2 separate regions of the Homo sapiens genome follow, and region 1 is linked to region 2. Evidence: promoter capture Hi-C in 16 types of primary human blood cells and fetal thymus (Javierre and others, 2016). All regions are on one chromosome and are shown on one strand. Each heading gives the region's core, a stretch centred on a gene start or on the middle of the fragment in contact. The rest is flanking DNA. Distances are from core to core; before and after follow the strand shown. Region 1 holds the start of DHRS12 (dehydrogenase/reductase 12). Region 2 holds the start of NUDT15 (nudix hydrolase 15).

Region 1 (4,301 bases), core at 1,201-3,700, 3.8 Mb after region 2:
CTAGGAGGAGGCATTGTGGGGAATGAGTGAGAACTTCCCAAATACAATAGAGCCAGAAAAAAAGCAGTCCACAGGGAACAGGCCTGAAGAGCCCTTCTCCAGGGGCAGGAAGCTGACAGGCTTTTCTCTGTGATACCCAGTCAGAGGGGACATTAGCCTCTGGGCTCCACACTGATCCGTATTAGAGACGAATGTTTGCTGAGGCTGGCTCCTCTGGGTTGAACCTCTTCCTCAAACTCCAGACTGGGAGTGCTGCCAAGCGGGCAGTACCAGCCTGGCCTGCAGGACATGTCCCCGCCCTCTGTCCTCTGCCTTGGATCTTGCCTTCCATACAAGAATTCCATCCTGGTCCGATCTGTTGTTAATAAGACTTGTCTTTTATGTACTCTGCCCCTTATTGGGGAAGCATTTTATTTTCACTCTAGAAATCAGTCTCTAGATATCAGTCTCTATTTTTCACACACACACACACACACACACACACACACACACACACACACACACACGACTTTCCCAAGGTCACCAGAAGGTAGGTGATCTTCTTCAACACCCAGCCTCGGTGCCAAAGGGCAGTCCCCAGACAAGCTGCATCAGCATCATCTGGAAACCTGTTGGAAATGCCCTGCCTACTGACTCAGAAGTGATTGCTTGGCAACCTGTGGTTTCATGTGCCTTGCCAGTGATTTTGACTCAAGCTGAGAGGACATTTGTACTTACTGTTTCCTGAAGCTGAGGTGACAGGGATGGGGAGGAGGAAGCTGGCAGGTATCTGTGTCTCCCCACACCCTCAATTTACCCAAATATGAAATTTGCTTAGGACCCATCCACACTTGCCCAGGGTTTAGGAGTCTGTTTAAAACTGCCCCAGGGAATTATTAGGTTCAGCAAAGTTTAGGAAACAGTGATTAGATCCTCCTGCCTTAGGAGCCCAATATAGGGAGGCTTTATAAAAATCCTTGTGCCAAGAGAAACGTTGTAAACTCTAACTCCGCGCTCTCACACTGAAGTCAAAACAAGGTTGTTGTTTTTCTCTCCTATTCACTAAATCCACAACAGCAGGAAAACCCATCTAACTTTGCCAACTGCCTTCCCCTCCCCTCCCTTCCCCCACCAATCTGTGGTGGATTGGGCCCCTTGGCCTCACTTCTACCTTCCCTCAAGGTGGGGAAATCAGAGCGAAAGAGTCCTGGGAGAAATTTTTACAGTCTGCTTTCCTTGGGGCCCACCCCTGGTTGGAAACTGACTTAAGCTTTCATGCTGTGTAATGTGGAAAGATCCAGCAATTAATGGTCATTGCCAGAGGACACCCCTTTGAAAGAAAGAGGCTGCCACTGTATTCCCCTAAAAACTGTGGGACAGGGCTCACGACTACACTCCCCACCATTCTCTGCAGCAGGGGCTCCTGAGACAGAGCTGAACCTTCTCCAAAACGATGTGGGGTGAAGAGCAGGGAGTTGCAACTCCTACCTCCCCTAGGAGTGCTGGCCAGGTTGCCGTGGGAACTGATAAAGCCCCAGTGCAGGGAGAAGCCTCTCAGAGGTGAGAATCACCTGGGGCATTTGGATGAAATGCCAGTCCAGGCCCCTGTGCAGATCCACTAAATCAGAATCTGTAGGGATGGGGCCTGAAAACTGGGTACTTTTAATTCTCGCCCAGTGATTCTGATGTGCAGACAGGGTTGAGAACCAGCGGTTAGCCTAATCAATTCTAAGAGAAAACCTCCATCTCTCCTCCGTCACAGGAACCTGTCACCTCTTAAAACCACAATGAGGTGGAGAGCCAACTAGGGCACACTGAGCGTGGTCACGGGGCGACGAAACCACCACGCACCGTTCCCCAGAAGCACACACTGGCTGGAAAGTTCCAGCTGGAGCCAAAGGTCGCAGTCCAGGTGCTGCATCTTTTTAAAGGAAACACACCCAAAGGCACTAGGACAGAGCCTTAGCTAGCGATTTAGATCCAGCCCTATCTGACGCCGCCAGCAGCACCACGAAGACACTTCCACGAGCACACCCAGCGGGGCGCCGAGGTGCCGCCCAAGAGGCTCCTTGGCGCCGGGGCCGCCTGACGTCAGTGGGACGGCCCTGGGCTTGGGCGCGCCACAGCCCCGCCCCTCGGGCGCCAGTCTCGGTCGCGGGCATTGAGCGGCTGGAGTCTGGCGACTGCCCCACGCCCAGCCGTGGGTCGCTAGACGGCGGGCGCACCCGTCGTTCTGGACACGCTTAGTCGGCCCAGCGAGAGGGCGAAGGAGCCGCGGGCGCGTCCCCGCCAACCCTGCTCGCCCGCGCCGAGGCGGGCCACGTGACAGCCCGGGGCCCCGCGCCCCGCCGCGCCGCCTTACTTGGTGTACTCGCGCAGCCCCTTGGCGAACCACACGACGCTGCGGTACAGGGACATGCCGGGAGCGCCCCACGCCTAGCCCCACCGCGCTCCCGGCGCGGCCTCCGCCCTGGTCCCGCCCCCCGGGAGTCGCCCGCCCTGACATCATCCCGGTTATGTAAGAGCCGCGGCTTCCGGTTCCTTGCTCCACCGGTAAGGCAAGGGGTCTCGGGGCCGGCCGGTCGACTCCGCCCCAGCCTCAGAGGGTGGAGTGAGGGCGGACCGGCCCTGGTGGGGGCCGCAGTCGAGGTCCGCAGTCTCCTCGGGGTCGAAATCGGGCATCAGCGCCGTTTAGAGAACACCGTCCTGCTGGGCATGGCCGGGATGCGAAGATGGCCCTGCAACGCACCTCCTAGAATTTGGTTACCTAGAAAACCATGTGGAATAAAACGACGAGGCTTATGATATTTAAAAGACTTCTGCATCGAATTGGTGTTATCATAAGGGTTATTTTAATAACTGGCATTCTCTAAGTTTCTACACGTGTTGGGGGATGCAGTGCCGTGCCACATTTCCCGTCTCCAGCAAGCGCAGTCAGATTGGCGACATCGCAGGCAAGAGGCAGGGCTGGGGCTCCCACCCGAGAAGTAATTGTCTCCAAAGTTGGACTTTTGCCACTGGTTCTGCGACTTCATGCAATGCCAGGGAGAGCCCCTTGATTTCCCCCAAATCCTCATCAGCCTCTTTCCACCCAAGCCCAGATGAACAGTGTGAGTAAAAAAGAGTGTGGTTGCTGCGTGAACCCAGATCTCAGACTAGTCATCCAGCCCCATTATGTAGGACTCAGACACCCCTGTCCACATCTAACCTCCAGCCCTAACGCCACATTAGAAATGGGGGTCTTACTGCTGCTGTCACTCCTAGTCACCCTGTTAAATTCTATACCGGTTTACCCAAGTCGCCCAGAGACTGGGCCCCACTTACATAAGCTGAAGAGACCAGCTGCTTTAATAGCCTCATTACCTAGGATATAGGATCACTGTCCAACCTCACTCCACAGTGGGCAAGTTTTTACTTCAGAATAACTTTTGAAATAAATTTCCCCGGAACAGCTCGCCCCTCTCAACAGGACTCTGAGGCTCCACTACGTTGCTGTTATTCCTGACAGAGTGATGAAAGGAAATTTAAACAAGTGGCATTTTGTAAAACCACCCCAGCCTGTGTGACTTTCAATGCCTGTCCGATTTGGCTGGGAAAATATTTTAGATCCCCAGGGCTACATACTGTTTTTTATACCCTCCTCTTTGTGTCAGTGATGGAAAAGGTGTCAATCTGCTCTGAATCTCTCTGAACACCTCAGGAAATAGGCTTTTGGCTCGCAGAGAGGGGATGAGAAATAGTTTTGAACCACCAAGTCTCTTGGAGGGTGTCAGCAGCCCCTTGAAGTAAAAGTGTGGCTGCAAACCCAGCTCTCTGCATTAGCCAGGTGAACCTGAGCATGCTGCATACACCCTCAGTCTTGGTTTCTTAATATGTAAAATGGGAATGAATATGCGCACCTCGTGGGGTGGTTGTGATTAAAGGCATTCATTATAAAGAGCTTAGTTTCATACAAAGTGATCAGAAGTGTTGGTTTCCCTCCTTAAGTTTTCTTCTCATTCCTTTTTCCCCTGCGCTTACAGCCATGCAGTGTACATTCAAGAAATTTCCATGAGGGCATGAGGTGTCCAGTGTTAGCCTCAAATCAAGCATCCACGAGGTAGTTAGTGTATACATTATATACATTTAAAGAGGAGGTCTTAGGAAAAGCCAAACCCTGTCTCAAAATGAGCTTCCACTCTCACCTGGATGCCAAGTAACACACACACACAAACAAAGGGCAGTATGGAGTTCACAAGGGAATGTTCCCGTTTAACTGGAGTCAGCTGAGCTGGATTCTAGTCCAATTTCTGCCAGTTATTCCCTGTGTGACCCATGTGATA
Region 2 (4,788 bases), core at 940-3,439:
ATTTTATTTTTGGTTCAGTTTTATAGTCTTCTGTATACAAGTGTTCCATATCTTTTGCTAAATATATTTCTAAGTATTTTATGTTTTTTATGGTATTATAAATGGTATTGTTTTAAAAATTTACTTTTCAATTGTTCATTGCTAATATATAGAAATATAATCAATTGTGTATATTAACCTTGAATCCTACGACCTTGCTAAACTTATTTCTTCTAATGGCTTTTTAATTAATTCCTCAGGATTGTTTTAAAAAAAAAAGACGGTTACTTATTCCTTTCCAATTTAACTACGTTTTATTGATTTTTAAATTTTATGAGTTGTGCTAACTAGAATCTCCAGCAACATGATGACTAAACGTGCTCAGAGTGGATACCCTAGCTCCTCCCAAATCTTGTCTTTCACCAAGATAAGGCTAGGCTAGTGCTATGGCTGCCATAACAAAGTATCAAGCCATAACAAAGTATCAAAGATTGTGTGGCTTAAATAACATAAATTAATTTTCTCACAATACTGGAGGCTAGAATTCTAAGATCAAGGTGTCAGCAGACTTGGTTTCTTCTGAGGCTGCTCTCCTTGGCTTGTAGACGGCTGCCTTCTCCCTGTGTCATCATACAGTCTTCCAATAGAACACAGTCTGGGTTCTAATCTCTACTTCTTGCGAGGACACCAGTCATAACATTAGAATAGGGCCTACCCTAGTGGCTTCATTTTAACTTGATCCTGTCTCCAAATGCTGAGGTACTGGGGGATAGGACTTCGACATAGGAATTTTGAGGGGACACAATTCAGCTCAAAACAGTCATTAAATATGATGTTAGCTGTAGGTCTTTGTAGATGCCATATATCATGTTAAAGTTTCATTTTATTTCTAGTTTGCTCAGAGATTTTGTGGAGTTTTTTTAATCACAACTGAGTATCGGATTTTATTAATTTTTTTCTGCATCTATTGAGATGATTATATGTATTTCCTTTCTCCCTCTGTTAATATGCTGAATTACATTGGCTTTTCAAATATTAAGCCAACCTAGTATTTCTGGGATTAATCTCATTGTTCAATATATTATCCTTTTTATATACTACCATTTTTTGAGAAGATATTGTAAGTACCTTTGTAATGAATGTGAATGTTGATAGTGAGGAGAGATGCTGTGAAAAGCTTAATACCCATTTAGTATAACATGGAGAGTAAGCATATTACTTAGAAATAAGTAGGCAAATATCAGAAATACAGTTCAAAGAGTTAAAAGTGATTGTTTCTGAAAGTAGGAGGGTCAGGTTGCTCTTGTTGCGGTTTTTGCACCATTTTACTTCTTAAAATTATAGCTATAGGTCAGGCGCAGTGGTTCACGCCTGTTATCCCAGCACTCTGGTAGGCCCAAGTGGAAGGACTGCTTGAGGACAGGAGTTGGAGATCAGCCTCGACAAAAGACCGACAGCCCACCTCCACAAAAAAAAAAAAAAGAAAGAAAATTAGCTAGCTTGGTGAAAATTAAAATAAAATAAAATTACCAGTATGTGCACATTACTTTGGTAGAAGTAAAAATAATGAGAAAGAGAGAAAACCCTCCCAGTAACTAGTCATTTGTTTTTATGATTCAGCTGGTTTGTATTTTGCATGGTGCATGGTGTGCAAACATCTGAAAATGTCTGTTTTCCACTGTTTGTAACTAACTCTTCCCAGCATGATTTATCAATTAGCCTTTATTTCCTCCCATGACTTATGAATATACCTTAAGCATAGTTGTTTATAATGGGATGTTTCTAAACGACCTATCCTTATCCTGGTACCACGCTGATTTGAGCTACAGGGCAAATGGGTGCACCATGGTGGGCGAGGTCATTCACGGAAAAAAGAATGTGCAGTGGTGCCGAGGTTGGTAAGAGCAGGCGGCTTGTACATGTAAATGCATGGTTTGCAGGAATCTGGGAGTGGATAGGCTGACGGGTGATGAATATTCAAAGCACAACTGTAAGCGACTTTAGTTACAGCGAAACTCTAAGGCACGCTGCCCTTCGGAAGGAAACACGGCATTCCCCAACCTGATAGCCCTCCGCGACGCATTACGCACCGCGGACAGCTGGAGAGGCCGAGGCGCTCTCGCTTTGATTTCGGCGCCTCCGCCCTCGCGGGGAGAGATTGGCTGCGGCCGCGGGACGGGGTAGTGAGCGCGTCACTTCCTGCCGCTGCCAGGCGCGTCCTCCCGCGCGCTATGACGGCCAGCGCACAGCCGCGCGGGCGGCGGCCAGGAGTCGGAGTCGGAGTCGTGGTGACCAGCTGCAAGCATCCGCGTTGCGTCCTCCTGGGGAAGAGGAAAGGCTCGGTTGGAGCTGGCAGTTTCCAACTCCCTGGAGGTCATCTGGAGTTCGGGTGAGCAGCCGCGGACGCGAGGAAACCGGGGCGTGCGCAGAGGGACGAACTCACGCCGTGCTTGCTTCCGTGTGCCGTGCGTGAGAACGTCCGCGCTGACGCTGCGTCCTTTCTTGCGCGTTCCCTCGGTTCCTCCCCTCGACTTCTGGGCGACGTAGGATCGCGCCCAGGAGGGGGCGCTGTGCTGGGTCAGGCGAGGTCTTTGCTAGCTGGGTCTTTCCGGCTGCGCCCCTGCTGGGTGGTGGTTGGGAGTTCGTCTGTGAGGTGTGTTTCTCACAGCTTACACACAAAAGGAGGAAAGCAGGTGTGTGTAAACCTCCAGCAGCCCGATATTGTCAGCTAAGACATTGCACCGTTTCCATGTGATTGATTGATTGATCGATTGATTGATTTGAGACTGTGTCTCGCTCTGTAGCCCAGGCCAGAGTGCAGTGGTGCTATCTCCAGTCACTGCAACCTCCGCCTCCTGGGTTCAAGCGATTTTTGTGTCTCAGCCTCCTGGTAGCTGGGATTACAGGCGCCCGCTACCACGCCGTGCTAATTTTTGTATTTTTAGTAGAGACGGGGTTTCGCCATGTTGGCCAGGCTGGTCTCGAACTCCTGACCTCAGGTGATCCACCCGTGAGGTCAATGACCATAGCCAACATTGAGCTCTAATGGGCTTTTTGTTAAAGGCTGGATAATATGCCAAGCTCTTTGCATGTATACTTTCATTTGATCTTTACATAACTGGCATACTCAGTGGGCTAAATTTGATGGGAGAACAAACAGGAAATGGTTTTATTTTCTCCTTCCACTGCCTTCAAACATGATTTTTTCTTTCCCTCTTCAGTGACGTTTCCTGCAAATTCTATAGTTTTCTTGTCACTTGGTTATAAAAATAAATCACATTTGGGTCAGTATGATTCACTTCCAAGCATTTAAAAGTCCAATCCAATTTAAACCTTCAGTGTCACTTCCAGTTTCTAATCCCTCCCCTGCAGTGCATAAAGGAGGTGTGAGCCATTGTTCTGCTTTTCTGTATCCTCCTCCTCTTCTCACCTGGCTGTCTCTGAGTTTCCTTCTTTCTCCAGTGTGTTGGAGGAGGAGAGAGAGCAAGCCATTCAGGTGACTGATGCTGCTCTGATCCATCCATTGGTGTCCTCTGGGCATGATATCCACATGTGTGCTTTCTCAGGGTATGTTTGTCAGTTGTTGGGAAGTCCCACAGAGATTTTCCTGACATAGGTGACGGGCTTTCTGTGATGCTGGCCCACCTCCTAGCTCTTGCTTTTAGCACATCACCCCACATTTTCTTTCTACTGGGATCTCCTATTTGATTACCCAGCAGTCTCTTGTGGCATCTGCTTGGCCCAAAGGAAACACACAATGGGAATGATATTTCCACTGCTGCCCTTTTTCCTTGCTCTACCTCTGTATTCATCTGCATCTGGAAACTCCGAGGGACACATTTCAGATTTACCCAAGAGCTTTCACCCTTGTAGCACACCTTTTCTGATGCACTGGGGTAGGCCTGTGAGTTTCTGCAGCTCAGGATGTCTTTAGCAGGGGAGTGACACACTGAGTATCTCCTTCTTGAGTCACTCCCAATCTTGTGACTGATTCTCTTGGAATGTTCCTCACCTGTCTTGGGGGGGCAGAGTTGGCCCCTTGTAGTCTGGAAGGGAAATGCTCCTACTAGGCTGAAAACTCCAAACTTTCCTCTGTCTCAAACATCTCCTTTTTTTTTTTTTTTTTTTTTTTTTGAGACGGAGTCTCGCTCTGTCACCCAGGCTGGAGTGCAGTGGCGGGATCTCGGCTCACTGCAAGCTCCGCCTCCCGGGTTCACGCCATTCTCCTGCCTCAGCCTCCCAAGTAGCTGGGACTACAGGCGCCCGCCACTACGCCCGGCTAATTTTTTGTATTTTTAGTAGAGACGGGGTTTCACCGTTTTAGCCGGGATGGTCTCGATCTCCTGACCTCGTGATCCGCCCGCCTCGGCCTCCCAAAGTGCTGGGATTACAGGCGTGAGCCACCGCGCCCGGCCTCCTGTCTTTCTTATGTAGCCTGGATACGGAGAAGTCACAGGTCTAGTCTGGCCTTCCTTAGCTTGAGCTTGAGCTCAGATGACATCTGTTTGCCCTTTTGCTTGAGAATTTAGAAGTGCTTTTTACCTATTGTCTTCAGTTTTGAGGCTTAAATTGAAATTCTGAGACTGCTGGAAAAGACATAGTGGCACTTCTTGATACAATTACAGTGACCCCATGAGGAAGTAATATAATCTCTTTTTACTTGTCCAAGGTGGAAAGTAATGAACTTTGAGCTCAATCCCAGGTCTAGTTGACTCCAAAGTCTGCTCTTAATGCACTAAACTGCCTCCTTGTTACACACAGGTTCCAGGGCTGTAAATTAGTGCTGAGATGGCTAAATGTTAATTTTTA

Evidence for each region. Contacts are between HindIII fragments. The CHiCAGO score rates a contact against its expected background, and 5 or more counts as called.
Region 1: the fragment with the promoter of DHRS12 here is called in contact with the fragment with the promoter of NUDT15 in region 2 in 5 of 17 cell types (naive CD8 T cells, fetal thymus, total B cells and 2 more); the score reaches 11.4 in naive CD8 T cells.

Annotation. Positions count from the first base shown.
Region 1 is chr13:51,801,713-51,806,013 of GRCh38, forward strand. DHRS12 (dehydrogenase/reductase 12) reads right to left here and starts at 2,451. Exons shown (of 9, transcript NM_001377533.1): 1 at 2,342-2,451. It overlaps LOC107984561 (a long non-coding RNA gene), which reads left to right and starts at 2,124. Exons shown (of 2, transcript XR_007063805.1): 1 at 2,124-3,089. RefSeq lists enhancers at 767-816, 3,202-3,331 and a silencer at 2,012-2,651. The HindIII fragment of the contact is 7,862 bases long and covers 1,248-4,301 here.
Region 2 is chr13:48,035,537-48,040,324 of GRCh38, forward strand. NUDT15 (nudix hydrolase 15) reads left to right here and starts at 2,190. Exons shown (of 3, transcript NM_018283.4): 1 at 2,190-2,368. The coding sequence starts at 2,211. LOC124903172 (a long non-coding RNA gene) reads right to left here and starts at 2,456. Exons shown (of 2, transcript XR_007063788.1): 1 at 2,070-2,456. RefSeq lists enhancers at 1,318-2,194, 2,195-3,070, 2,237-2,476, 2,527-2,686. The HindIII fragment of the contact is 6,950 bases long and covers 1,155-4,788 here.